3 separate regions of the Homo sapiens genome follow, and regions 1 and 2 are each linked to region 3. The links are contacts of gene promoters, found by promoter capture Hi-C in human tissues and cell types (Jung and others, 2019). All regions are on one chromosome and are shown on one strand. The core of a region is centred on a gene start or on the middle of the fragment in contact, and the rest is flanking DNA. Distances in the headings are between cores, read along the strand shown. Region 1 overlaps RFPL2 (ret finger protein like 2). Region 2 overlaps SLC5A4-AS1 (SLC5A4 antisense RNA 1). Region 3 holds the start of SLC5A1 (solute carrier family 5 member 1).

The links. Contacts are between HindIII fragments. The study calls those that stand out against the background at their distance.
Region 1: a contact is called between a fragment that was not itself captured here and the fragment with the promoter of SLC5A1 in region 3, in 3 of the 25 tissues and cell types used here (adrenal gland, lymphoblastoid cells and mesenchymal stem cells).
Region 2: a fragment that was not itself captured here is called in contact with the fragment with the promoter of SLC5A1 in region 3 in 2 of the 25 tissues and cell types used here (heart left ventricle and lymphoblastoid cells).

Annotation. Positions count from the first base shown.
Region 1 is chr22:32,190,159-32,194,931 of GRCh38, forward strand. It overlaps RFPL2 (ret finger protein like 2), which reads right to left. Exons shown (of 5, transcript NM_001394555.1): 3 at 4,187-4,332; 4 at 2,744-3,034; 5 at 280-1,194. The coding sequence ends at 614. Among named protein-coding and RNA genes, the nearest start is that of RFPL2, 13 kb to the right of the region's middle. The HindIII fragment of the contact is 8,298 bases long and covers 1-4,773 here.
Region 2 is chr22:32,211,020-32,215,743 of GRCh38, forward strand. The region is part of intron 2 of SLC5A4-AS1 (SLC5A4 antisense RNA 1); the gene reads left to right. Among named protein-coding and RNA genes, the nearest start is that of SLC5A4-AS1, 8.3 kb to the left of the region's middle. RefSeq lists an enhancer at 1,083-1,584. The HindIII fragment of the contact is 5,924 bases long and covers 1-4,724 here.
Region 3 is chr22:32,040,518-32,044,903 of GRCh38, forward strand. SLC5A1 (solute carrier family 5 member 1) reads left to right here and starts at 2,744. Exons shown (of 15, transcript NM_000343.4): 1 at 2,744-2,899. The coding sequence starts at 2,765. The HindIII fragment of the contact is 11,764 bases long and covers 242-4,386 here.

The DNA of each region.
Region 1 (4,773 bases), core at 1,256-3,755, 150 kb after region 3:
CACACACTCACACTTTTACTATGAATAAAATATATTGCACTCCTATCATTTAGAAAATCACATAATCCAGCTGGGTGCAGTGGCTCATGCCTGTAATCCCAGCACTTTGGGAGGCCGACGCGGGTGAATCATGAGGTAAAGAGTTCAAGACCAGCCTGGCCAACATGGTGAAACCCTGTCTCTACTAAAAATACAAAAAATTAGCTGAGGTTGGTGGTGGGTGCCTGTAATCCCAGCTACTCAGGAGGCTGAGGAAAGAAAGTCACATAATCCATTAGGTGATATTCCAATCTTTATTTAACTCATAACTTCTATAATACATTAATTTGAACTTGCAGAAATAAAAAAGTAAAGCATTTGGAAATTGATCCCAGAATACAGGACATTTCTATAGGAAACAAGATGTGAACCATAGGACTCAATGAGTTTGATGGTGGCAATAATTAATACTTAGGACTCTATAATCTAATCAAATTAGATTAAGTACAATCAAGAAATGTCCCATATTTTTCTCCCGTGACTTTGTATAATGCTTTTACGAAGTAGAGCGTTCCTAAGTCTACCCACCCAAGTAATTTTCTTACCCTGTTTTTTGTTTTTTTGGAGTGAGGGCTTATTTGGCCTCCCCAGGACGGACTGGAGCATCAGTAGTGCCTGAGTTCATCAAAGGACAGATGCTCAAGACACCTTGATCACCATTAGGTGGAACTGAAGGAGCCAAAAATGGGCGCAATGGCTCCTCAGCAGATACGCTCCTGAATGTATAGACATGGGAACCACTTTCAGCATCAAAAAAGGAAACGTTCTGCATGCCCATATCCAGAAAAATCCCCACTCGCTGTAACTTGCGGTCTACGAAGAGGAAAGTCAGCGGCACCGTGGTGGCAGAGAGGCGGCCTCCATCCCTCAAACTCACAGTCCAGAATCCAAGCTCTGTGGTCAGCTGGATCCTCCCTTTGCGGTGAACAGATTCTCTGCAGACTCCCAGGTCCCATTCTGTGCTTGTTCCCACGTCCACCTCCCAGCAGTGGCGGCCACAGGTAAAGCGAGGGGAGCCCAGGATGCAAACGGACACGTCAAATCTCTCGGCAAGGTCTTGCCGATTCTGTCTGATGCGCCCACTTCGGACGCTCCTGAGGTCGTCAGAAATGAGGAGGAAGTTGTTGGCTGTGTTGGCATCCAAGGTCATATCCACTGTGAAAAGGAAAAAAAGTTGCTCAGCAAATGGACAGAAACCAACCCTATGCCTCTCTTCTACTTCAAAGGCCCAAATATCTCTTGACTTTAGTTTCTTTAATTCTCTTCTTCCCCCAAAATCCAAACTTCATGAGGTAACTTCCCTGACTAGTTCAAATTCTCATAGGTATGCTTTGTGGCAATACCTGACCCTTATTCACAGTAGCAATTCTTATTTTACTTTATGTCATGTGTTTGCTTCATTGGCCTTTTCTTCGTTTAGAGTGGAGGGTCTTTGAAGGCAGACACCATGCCCCCCTTTCTACCACCTTGATGCATGAACAAATAAATGATAAGACAATGCAAGTGGTCGATATTAAATGATGTTTGTTTCCACATTTTTTTGCTTCAATTTAAATAGTATCTAGAGCATGAGTCCAGGCCTTTGTTTTCCATGTTTGTAAACAAATTAATCGTGTACAGTTCTGACAGAAGATGGAATATCTCTGCAGCTGACGGTGTGATGACAGAGGAAGGAGGCAATGTGATCTGGCCTAGAGAAAATTAATTGTCCAGAACATTCTGAAAAAAAAAAATCTACAGAACATATGATCCTTCAAGTCAAAAAACTGATATGATCACCAATATAGATTTTATAGATTACAGTAAGACTTGAAGAGATTGATTGCTGTTTGATGGTGAATTAGGGAATGAAATGAATGGACATGGATAAGGAAGGAGGAAGAGGGTTCCAAACATGACTTGGGCAGGGTGAATCTGTCCTCCATATTTCAGCAGAGAGACAGTCAGTTTTGGGTAGGTGGAAGAGTAGAGATCGTGGGTGTCAGGGCAGAAGCTACCAGTGTCGGGGACATCATAGGGGCCCACCACCATTTATAGGTGTAATTCTGTGCCCAGGCTGACCATAATCTCTTCATGTAAATGTCCCTTTTCTCCAGAGTTATAGAGATGTATAGTATTTTCTGTAGCCAGGACCACTGTTGAAGCCCATGGCGCATGGATGAGGAGAACACTGTCTGAAACTCTCCCCACACTCACAGAAACAAACACCATAGGTGCTCCATTCCCAACTCTTCCCAACCCTGGGGTAAGGTTGTTTGTACAATGGGTGCCAATATTCACCGTGCATTAGAATTACCAGGCCCATTTTAATGTTAGAGTCCTGGGAACCTTTGCTAGAGAGAAATTCAAATTCAGTTGCTCTATGTTTTTGCTACTCAGCAAAGTCCCCAAGCCAGTGGGATCAATCCTGAGACTTCCCAGTTCAGCATCTGCATTTTAACAAGATCCCCAGGTAATCTGAGCACACTAAGTTTAGAGAATCCCTTGTCTAACCCATGACATAGACATCGGGTTTTTGTTTGTTTTTGTTTTTGACATCACCAGGTGATTCTGTATGTTGTCAGGGCTGAGAATCTGATGATGAAGCATCTCAATTTTAGGTGCCAGACAGCAGCTAATCCCCATGTGGAATGAGGGGCCAACTGCACAAATGATTTTTCCTGGTCTGGTCTTGGGAAGGGGGCAGGGTATACAGATGCCTTACCTTGGAACTTCCGCATCCTTGGGTTCATCTGCAGAATCTTCTTCAGCTTGGGCTCCAGTTCCTTGATGTGGGAAGCCAGCCTCTCTAGCTGCCGATTGCGCCTGATTTTGTTCTTCCGAGAGACCATGGAAGAGCAACAGCAAAGTAGATCCTCCCCATGGGGCTCCTTCTGCAGTGAATTAATGCACTTGAGGCAGACGGCGCATCCACACTCCAGGGACATTGGTTTTTCCAGATAGTCTGAGCAGACGGGACAGCTGCTTGCTTCTTGGAAGAGTGCAGCCATGTCCACTGCCAGGGGAAAAGTACACAAGGTAAAAAAATTTCCATGAGGTGAAAGCCTGTTAGTTGTGACAAGTGACAACCTTTTCATGCATAGAGGTATTGTGTTCCAGCTTTGTCACTCCGAGAATAAGACCATGAGTACAAACACTCAAGCACATCCCCCCACCCCCCGTCTTCAGAGATTTGAAGTTCTATTGGGAAAGTCACGAATCATCACTGTGCTCTGAGCTGAGGTGGAGGAAGCGTCCATTCTCCTGGTGACCCAGCAGCTGAGCCTGAGCCAGTGACATGGCAGCACCCATGTGAGGAACAGCGAGCTGGGGTCATTTCACCTCCTCCTAGGGGAACCCCAGCAAGAGACTGATTGATGAACATAAGAATTAGGGGCTGGGAGGCCGGGCACGATGGCTCATGCCTGTCCAGCACTTTGGGAGGCCAAGGTGGGTGGATCATCTGAGGTCGTCAAAAGTTCGAGACCAGCCTGACCAACATGGGGAAACCCCATCTCTACTGAAAATACAAAAGAATTAGCCAGGCGTGGTGGCACATGCCTGTAATCCCAGATACTTGGGAGGCTGAGGCAGGAGAATCACTTGAACCTGGGAGGCAGAGGTTGCAGTGAGCCGAGATCCTGCCATTGCACTCTGGCCTGGGCAACAGAGTGAGACACCATCTCAAAAAAAAAAAAAAAAAAAAAAAAGAGGGGCTGGATGCAGTAGCTCACATCTGTAATCCCAGCATTTTGCGAGGCCGAGGCAGGAAGATCCCTTGAACCGAGGAGTTTGAGACCAGTCTGGGCAACACAGGAAGACCCTGTCTCTACAAATAATACAAAAATTAGCAGAGAGCAGAGATCACGCCAAGTCACTCCAACCTGGACAACAGAGTTAAGACCCGTCTCACCAAAAAATAAAAAAATAAAAAAATAAAAAAAATTACATCCTTCTCCAGCCTTGGAAGTGAATACCAAATTGACTGCCACCACTCTTACACTCCTAGACTGGGGATCCAGGGTGACTGGTTTCCAACTCTGAGGCAGCACTCAGACGGCCTTTGTTGAATTCATTAATTACGAATTTCTCTCATTCATCCCCCCAAGTCATAACCCCCATTTCTAGGCATCTAAGAGGAAAAACACACACACAGGCATGGGCTCACCTCTTCTGCTGGAAGCTCCTCTGTCCTCCAGCTGCTTCCACTGGGCGCTCAGGTCTTGTGGGGAAGGGGCACACGAGGGCCTTTTATTGGTGAGATTCCCACCTCCCACTGGGTCACGCCCTTCCACACCCTCTAACCTGATGAGGCTTTGATTTAATTATAACAGGGAATTAGGTTTTTACTGGTGATATATCTCCAGTTAATTATAACTTCAGTAAATCCTTCATCCTGACAGTGTATTTTTCTTTCATATGAAGGTAAGATTAAATTGCCTTTATATTAAATTAGGCTTAATGTACTAACTTCAAAAGCTTATTTTAGAGATGTTTCCATCAGTTGTCAGTAAAGATAATTCCTGTAATATGTTGTAGGCTTCAAGCTTTGCTTGGAATCCTAAAGTATTAAGTGTGATTGGATTTGCAATTTTACAAAATGGTTTAAATTCATATACATCAGACTCAAAGGTAATAAGGGCAGGCATTCCATTGAGGAAATTCTAGGTACTTTTTATTTGTTTCCATTGGTTTATTTCCGGCTTTGAAAAAATTTCATAATTCATAGGAAAAAATTAGATAATTACTATTTTG
Region 2 (4,724 bases), core at 1,646-4,145, 170 kb after region 3:
TAACTGCTTCCTAGGACATGTGGTTACTTCTAGCAAAGCCACCCATGTTCATCATTCTTTTAGTGACATTAGCTGTGTTTGATGATCGATAACTTTGTGCTTCAGATAAAAAGGAAGACAGAGGGTTGAGGCTTCCATTCACCTCCTCGTGAGAGCTGCAGTGTGTCGCTGAAGGGAGGGCCCAGCAGCTGTGCTATGAACCTAGGAGTGTGCTTCCTGCTTTGGAAAAAAGGAAGAAAAGTAGTTTCTTCCCTTTTATTCACCACTTTGATAATGGACGATCTGGTGCTCGGCCATACTCGAGGGTGAACAGAACAACATAGAGCCAGAGTGAGCTCCAGCATGTGAGGACATCTGACATGTGGGATCCACTGCGGTTATATTGAATTGGTGATCATGATGTGGCTACAAAACATAAACATTTGCCCACTGAGCACCTCCTCAGGGGGCACCTCATTTTCTTTCATTGCTCCGGAAGCTTCAGTGGCTCCTGATTTCGCAGAGGATGAGAGGTCCTGTCTTGTCATGTCCCTTTCCTGCCCCAGGCCTGGGATCCCCCACTGATCCCACTTCCCTTAGGAGGAGGAGGTATTTAAGGACCACACCCTGGAGACTCTCTCATGTCCCCCATTTGAATAAGGAAATGGTAGCCATCACCCCACCTGACCTACCCAATGTAAAACCAGATTGAGGGGTCCAGGGATCAAGGATGGAGCTTCCATTTTGTTGAGGGGGACCAGCCGGGCCTCACTGGCCAGGGCCATCCCAACTGGGTCAAGACCTGGGAAGATGGGGCTGAAACTCCTGGAGTCAGGGCTAGGTTAATGGGAAGGTTCCCAGGACACTGCACTCTAGGGTAACCAGCTTCTCCCTGGAGGGAGAGGGTACTGTCTGCATCACCCCATGGTATCACCAAGCAATCAGTGTTGAGTCAACTCCCCCAGGGAGACCAGGTATCCCTGTCCATGAAAATTCCTCCTAGTGGCATAAATGCCCTCTGATAAACTCATCCCCATGACTACATGATGGTTGGTGGGAAAACCAAACCCAAGACGCCGATGTCCTCCAGGGATCCTGCTGCTGGTCACAGGATGTCACTTGTCCCCTTATCTGTGGGGGTGAGGGTGAGGGGTGTGTGGACTCAATGAGCAGATGCCACCAGGGGGAGTGGCCAGAGCTTCCTTCCTCACAGCTGCAGTGGGGGCTGGGGGTAGGGGCATCCCAGGGAGGGGTTTTTGTATGAGCCTGTGTCACAATGTGGCGCTGGGTCTGCTGGCGGGCCTCCTGATGGTTCTTGCCTGTGCCCATGGCAGCAGGTGGGACAGAACAATCCTCAGGCTCCCAGGTGCTTGCCTGGAAGTGCAGCGGCGGCGAGTGGGGCAAGTCTTCCCTCAAGCCCTGGGACAGTATCTGGGTGGGCTGGTTCCCAGACACAATGAAGGTACGTGCAATTTTGTGTCAGCCCTGCTGCTGGGGGTGGGATGTGGGGTTGCTGTCAGTGGCAGCAGCCACAGGCAGATGGCTCTCAGGCTCATGCACTTGGGTTTCCTTTGTCATGGAGCTGGCCTCCTTGGTGCACTGCATTGCCCATTCCCTGGGGTGTAGGACTCTTGTGTGGGCTAGAGTGCTGGAGACGCGGTCAAACCGCTGGTCTAGCCGGCATCATGCTGCTGTAGCCCTCTAAGTGGATAAGGGGAGATGTCAGGGGGGCTCTAGGGATGTGGAGATGCAGGGCTGTTGGGCCCCAGGGCAAGAGGCAATCCTCATGGGGTCTGGGCTCTCAAAATGGCACGTGCTGGAGCTTCTTGGATCTAAAGTGTGTGTGTGGTACCCAGCACGACTCCCTCTGGAACAATGCCATTGCGTGGACAAGTACAGGCAGCATCCTATGCTGTCTCAGGGCCCACAAGAGCTGAGGGGCTCTCCCATGGCCAGGGTTGCAGGAATCTGTGGTGGGAATGTGGACCCCTGGGAATCTCTCACTTACCTTTTCCCCTGCACTGGGGAGCTCATCTGGTCTTGCTTTTCTCTCCTTCCATATCTCGGATGGTTCTGTCACTTCCCCGCTGAATTCCAGCATTCTCTGTTAGATGCTCTATTTGACATGTGATTATCTGTTTTGCTCCTTCTTTGTGGAGGAGACGAATGTTGGGCACCTCTAGTCAGTCACCTTGAAGCTCTTCTCCAAGTGTCATTTTTTTTTTTGAGTTTTAAAGTTGGCCTGTTGGTCTTTTTATTCCGGATACAACTCCTTTGTCAGACGTGTGCGTACTCTAAGTATTTTCAGTTATTTTGTGGGTTGTTTGGTCATTTCCTTTAAGGTGACTTTTGTTGGCTAGAAGTTTTCAATTTTGATGTAGTTCAATATATTGCTTTTTTCTCCTATGATTGGTAATTTTTGTGTCCTCTGTATGAAGACATTGTCTATTCCAAGGAGGTTATATTATATATATACACACACACACACACACACACACACACTATATATATATATACACACACTATATATACACACTATATATACACACACTATATATATACACACTATATATGTATGTGTGTATATATATACATATATGTATACATATATATCTATATATGTATACATATATGTATACATATATATCTATACATATATGTATATATCTATATATGTATACATATATATCTATACATATATGTATATATCTATATATGTATACATATATATCTATACATATATATGGATATATATCTATATATGTATACATATATATCTATACATATATATGGATATATATATCTATATATGTATACATATATATCTATATATATAGCAGGGAAGCCCAAGTCTGTTTCTTCCTATCCAAATGCAGTTCAACAGTTAGGCTTACTTGTCTCTTTCTCATTTATTTATGGGAGCTCTTTTTTTCCTGTTTTGTAATATCTTTTGGACTCCACATTTTCAATTTCATTTGCACTGCCTTTTGATATACAAAATGTGTTTATTATTTTTAGGTTTCCTGTTTTAAGAATGTTCCTCACCTTAAACCACTTGATAGAAAAATAGGAAAAGGTTATAAATAGGCAACTAATTGAAGTTAAAATAACTGATTAGTTAGCACTCCTGTGAGATTTTTCACCAAGGGAATTAGCAAGATATATATATTTTTTGAAAAAGCAACAACTTTTGTTGCTACTGAGCCTGCAGGGGAAACGGTCCTCCTGCTTGTTCCCTGTTGATGGGAATGTGAATTGCTTCAACTTTTTGGAAAGTAACTAATCAGTATCTATTAAAAGTGTAAGTAAACATAGCTATGGCTAAGTTATACCACTACAAAGATTCTGTCCTGTAGAAATGAAACCATCCAGTGTAAAAGATGATTGCTACAACACTATTTGTGGTGGCAAAGAGTACTTAACTTGAATGTCCATCTGAAGGGGAATTGTTGGCTGGATGCAGTGGCTCATGCCTGTAATCCCAGCGCTTTGGGAGGCTGAGGTGAGTAACTTGAAGTCAGGAGTTCAAGACCAGCCTGGGCAACATGGCAAGATCCCATCTCTGAAAAAAATAGGGTGTGGTGGCATGTGCCTGTAGTCCCAGATACTTGGAAGGCAGAGGCAGGAGGATTTCTTTGGCCCAGAAGTTGTTCTTTTAATTTCTGGCCTTACTGAATCACTGGGCCCAGGAATTGCAGGCTGCAGCAAACCATGATAGTGCCACTGCATTTCAGCTTGGGTGACAGAGCAAGAACTTGTCTTAAAAAAAAAAAAGAAAGAAAGAAAGAAAAGAAAAAGCGGGAATTGCTAAGGAAATAAAATACATTCAATATTATAAATTAGGCAGAAATTAAAATAAATACATTTGATCTACATTAGTTAGGCTTAGTAATGTCCACAATGCAGTATAAAGAGAAAAAAGTAAATTGCAATATAATGTAGGATTTCAGTATGTCATTTCAAACAAAACAGACAACAAAACCCTGAAAAGACAATTGAAAGTAAGTCACAAAACCCAGAAGTCATAAGAGAAAAAGAAACAATTTGACTAAATATAAATTAAAGCTTCTGTACAATAAAAGACAACATAAAGTTACAAGGCAAGACATAGACTTTAAGACAAAATACTTGCTATTCATATGCAAATAATAAATATATAGAATATGTAAAGAATATCTGTAAATGAATTAGAGAATTGGTAAAGGATATCAAGTAATTCACAGAAAAAATATGAATAGCTAATAAATACATGCAAATATATACAATCTCACTAGTAAGTGGAGAAATACCAATTTAAAAAATGAAACTATTTTTCAATCATCAAATTGACAAAAATTCACTATGATTGGTAATATACCCTGTAGTCAAGCATGTGAGTAAATAAAAACTCTCATATACTGATGAGAATATAAATTGGCAAATCCTTTTTGAAACATAATTTTTAATCAAAATATTAATGCTTGTACACTTTGCTCCAGTATTCCATTTCTAGGAAAATAAAGAAAATAAAACTAGCAAATATGTCAAAAGATGAATATACAGGTATGTCTATTTGAGTATTGTAGATAATAGCAAATAATTGAAACCAACATGAATGCTCCTTAGTAGAAAAGTGGCCAAATTATAGTGAACTATCCTATGGAACAATAGTGCAGCTATAAGAAGAATGAGGGAGATCTATTTGTACAGATAGGCAAAGATCTCCAAGATATATTTTATGTGTAAAAGCCAGTCACAAAATAACA
Region 3 (4,386 bases), core at 1,494-3,993:
TGAATATTTGTTCTTTTTCTGACAGTCAGGTATGGCTGTGGCTCTGTGGGCATCTATTTTTAAATGTGGAATCCTTGTCTGACCACTGATTGTAAACCTATGTATACTTGGATAGGGAGGGGGCTGCTTCCTGCTCTCAGCTCTGTCTTTCCTTATCAGCCTCATCTTTCCTGCGGCCTGAGTGTCTGGCTGGCTTTTTTCTTTCTCGGGTGTTCTGCTAACAAGGGCCCCTTTAGTGACCAGATCCTGGTTTTGATTGGCACCAATGACGGCAAGAGAGAGTCCAACAGGATCCTACCAGTGAGCAGTGACCCAGCAGCTCAGGCCAGCTGCATGGGAGCAGGTGGGCATCACACTGTGTTCTCCTAGAAGCATCCATTCAGGGGAAATTGGGTTTGAAGTGTCCCTTTAGAAGAGACCAATGAGGAAGAGAGATGGCAAAAGGGCCTCAGGCAGCCTGGGGAATGACTGTGGTAGGGAGTTTCTTACAGGTGACATGCTTTTTATATATGTTTATTTGTAGCCCCAGCTAGTCCCTCCCTAAATATTGTAACCCCTTCCTTACTCCTCATGCTTGTCATCTCCTGGAATGTCCCTCACTCCCAGCTTACTTGGCCTATTCCTCCTTTTCTTTCAGGTCCCTGCTCAAACCAGAGCTTTCACAGAACTTACTCTAACCTCACCTTATCCCCAGGTTGAATTCCTTGGTAGGCATTTGGGGTATTAGTATTTCTCCTTCAAAGCATGTGTCACAATGGTAATTTCACAGGTAGTTGTCTCATCTTTGATGCTGATCTATCTCTGTCATTGGTCAGGAAGCTCTGTGAGGGCAAGAGCTCTGTGTCTTTTCATAGCTGTATTCCAGGGTCGGTACATATGATCTGGCACATAGAAGCTGCTCTTTTGTTGTAAGAATAAATGAATGAATGAATGGATGCATTTTCTGACCTCTACCTGGGCACCATCCTTTCCTTTCTTTTCCCATTTATGTTTGGCTCTCCTAAAAGATCAAAGAATGGCTCTGTCCCTCCTTTGAAGTCCTTTAGTACTTCCAGTTCTCTCTCCTGCTCGCTTCACTTTCTATGCCTTGTACTTTTGGAACTTGGCATGGCCTGGCTGCCTGCACCTGCACCTGGGTTCAGGGCTGGACTTTTCCTGTGGGTGGGTTCACTTCCAGACTAGAACAGAAGCTTCCTAAGGGCAGGGACTCTTCCTGGGATACATTCAGGTGAAAAAACTTGGCTGAATGCAGGAATGAATGAACACAGGCAAAAGGCGAGTTGCTCCAAGCTGCAGCTGACAGCTGAGCTCTAAGTCTTGGGAGGCATCCACAGCAGACAGCCCCTGCTTTCAGGTTCCTCGTAAGAATTCCTGCTTCCTTTGGGCAGGCATTATACTGGCCCCAGGACATAGCCTTATATAGTTTGCAGTCCTGGGGGATGTGTGGGGGAAATGGGGAAGACCTGTGGGGATGCTGTCCAAATAATGATTCTTTGTCTGCAGCTTCAGTGGGAAGAACAGTTGCTGATACGGAAGGAGGGGAGGCAGACCTCTGAAGCATTGAGTGCAAAGGAACAGGATGCTCACATTTAGGCAGTGGGTGGTTGTCTAGCAGTGGGCAGGGAGGGCCTGAGGCAGACCAGAGTCCTGGCAGGGTTTCTGTGGTCCTCTGCCTCCCTGCACCTCCCCATCAGAGCAAGGCCCCCCTCTTTGGGAACAGTCACTTTTGGCTGCTCTGTGGCCTCTAGAGCCAGCCCCTGAGAATACCCCACAGCCCTCCCTCTGAACCCTGGCATGGGCTGCAGGGCCAGCTCTGCTGCTGGTTTCCTGTATGACCTTGGGCAAGTCATGCCTCCTCTCTTGGTCATCTCTGTTCTGAGCCCTGGCTTGCTGTTTAGACATGTGTTTCCAGATGGGTGAGCTGAGTCCCCAGGAAGGTCAGGGTTTGATGAACTCCTTGGAAAGGGTTCTCTAGTATCTTCCCTTCTGCTGCCTCTGGAGGGCCCTGCATCAATACTGGGAGAGGGACAGGGCAAGGAAATAGCTCCCGGTGAGATCCCTTCCCCCAGTCTCAGTTTCTTCCTCTTTACAGTGGGGGTAACAGTGGACCTGGGGGCTGCAGGCTGTGGAGGGGGAGTCAGGAATGTGGGTGGGTGGGTGGCTGTCCTTGTGGCCAAGAGATTAGGATTGTGCTGGTTTTTTTCCAGTGACACCCAGCAACTCTCTGTCCTCTCAAGAATGTTCTCCAGGGAGAACAAGACTTGACTGATTCTTCAGAAGAGTGCTGCACCCATTTTACAAGCGGACAAGCCAAGTCCTTAGAAGGCATGGGACTAGTCCAAGGATGGGTGGCAGGTGATCTGAAGCCTCTAGGCTCCTAGCCCCAGGTGGCCTGTTCCCTCAATGGAGCCACTCCAGCTCTGGCAAGGGCAGGTGTGGTGGCGCTGCTGGTGCCTGCTGTGGGAGTACAGTGGGCCTTTGTGCCAGGCGGGCACCACCCCCTGGCTGGCCCCTCCCCATTCGCAGGACAGCTCTTACCTGCCGGGCCGCCGCCCCAGCCAACAGCTCAGCCGGGTGCTCCTTCCTGGGCTCCACGCCCGGAGCTGCTTCCTGACGGTGCAGCCGCAAGGCATCGCAGGGGCCCCGCGCTACTGCCCTGCTCCCTCAAAGTCCCAGGTCCCCTCCCCTGGTGCTGATCATTAACCAGGAGGCCGTATAAGGAGCTAGCGGCCCTGGCGAGAGGGAAGGACGCAACGCTGCCACCATGGACAGTAGCACCTGGAGCCCCAAGACCACCGCGGTCACCCGGCCTGTTGAGACCCACGAGCTCATTCGCAATGCAGCCGATATCTCCATCATCGTTATCTACTTCGTGGTAGTGATGGCCGTCGGACTGTGGGTATGCAGCGGGTTCTGGGATGCGGGTGGGGAGGGTGCGCACAGAGGAGGAGCAATGGCCTCGCTGAGCTGCAAGGGGCAGTAGGCTTAAGTGTCGGTGGAGGGGAGAGGAAATGACTTGGAAGCACTTTAGAAGCACTCAGAGGCACAGCATGAAGGGAGGAGGGCAAGCAAGGATGAGCAGAAGTGAGAAGGGTGCCCAGGGCAGCCTGCCAGGAAGGACCAAGGAGGATACCTGAGCCTGTGAGCAGAGAAGGAAGGTGGGGGTTTGAAGAGACCGCTGGAAAGTGTAAGGGGCAGGAAAGCGGCTGCTTAGAGCTACAGGGAGGGCTCTGGGGCTTGGGAGATGAGCCTCTAGCAGGTGACTACTGTCCTACCTTTTAGTCATCCAGTTTCAGATGGGAAAGAAATGGTGTGGAGTGGGAAAGCCACAGCCTCTGCCAGCCCCAGAGATGGGGATGCTGAGGTGGCAGACAGAGGGATGCTGACCCATGCCCCACTCCTGGGAGAGGCTAACCCAGAGGCCTTGTGCATGAGGATCCCAGGGGCTGGATCAAGTTAGAGATGAGAAAGATGGGTGGAAAAGGAGGAGGAGGAAGACCTGGGGGTGACCTGGCACTGGGGAGAGGGAAATGTGTGTGTCTCCTTTTGGGACTCTGGGGACACAGCAAACCAGAGAAACTTGTTCTCAGCCACCTGGAACATGGGCATTTCACTTATGACAGACTGTGGCAGGCCCAACAACTAGAGGAGGAGATGTTTTAAAAGTGTGCAGGACCGACTGTGGTGGTTCACTCCTGTAATCCTAGCACTTTGAGAGGCCAAGGTGGGAGGATTGCTTGAGTCCAGGAGTTCGAGATCAGCCTGGGCAACATAGTGAGACTCTGTCTCTACAAAAATAAAAAAAATTACAAAAAATATATAAAATGTTTGCAGATGTTCCAGCCATTCTCGTGATTGTTATGGAGGTGGAGGTGATAAGCCCAGGGAGGCTGCTGTAGCAGCTGGTGATTGTGTTGAACTCTTTTGACTTAGAGGAGAGGAAGGTAGGCATGAACACTTCTGTGGACACAGAGCTTTTTCAGGGACAAAAGGAAGTGTTTTTTTTTTTTTTTCCAAAGGAATTGTAGAAACTAGATGTGGCAGAATGCCTCCCAAGTGTCACATGGGGTCAGTATGGCTGACTTTTCCTCAATACTCTCAGCTTCCCAGACATAGTGGAAACTGACCAACTAGGAGCCAGGATACTCAAGTTCACTACTGGCTTTCACATGGTTCAAATCATGGAACATTGGGTAACTTCCCTCAGCCTCCAGTTTACTCAACTTTAACATAGGTACACTCTTATCTATTCTAATGACTCCCCCATGGTTGTGGTGAGGATACGCAGAGGTGAATCTGAAAGCTGTTTATGGACTCTAGGATTAAAAAAAACTACTATTGTCATTTACCTTCCATGGTATGATCTGGGCTCTGAACAATGTTTAT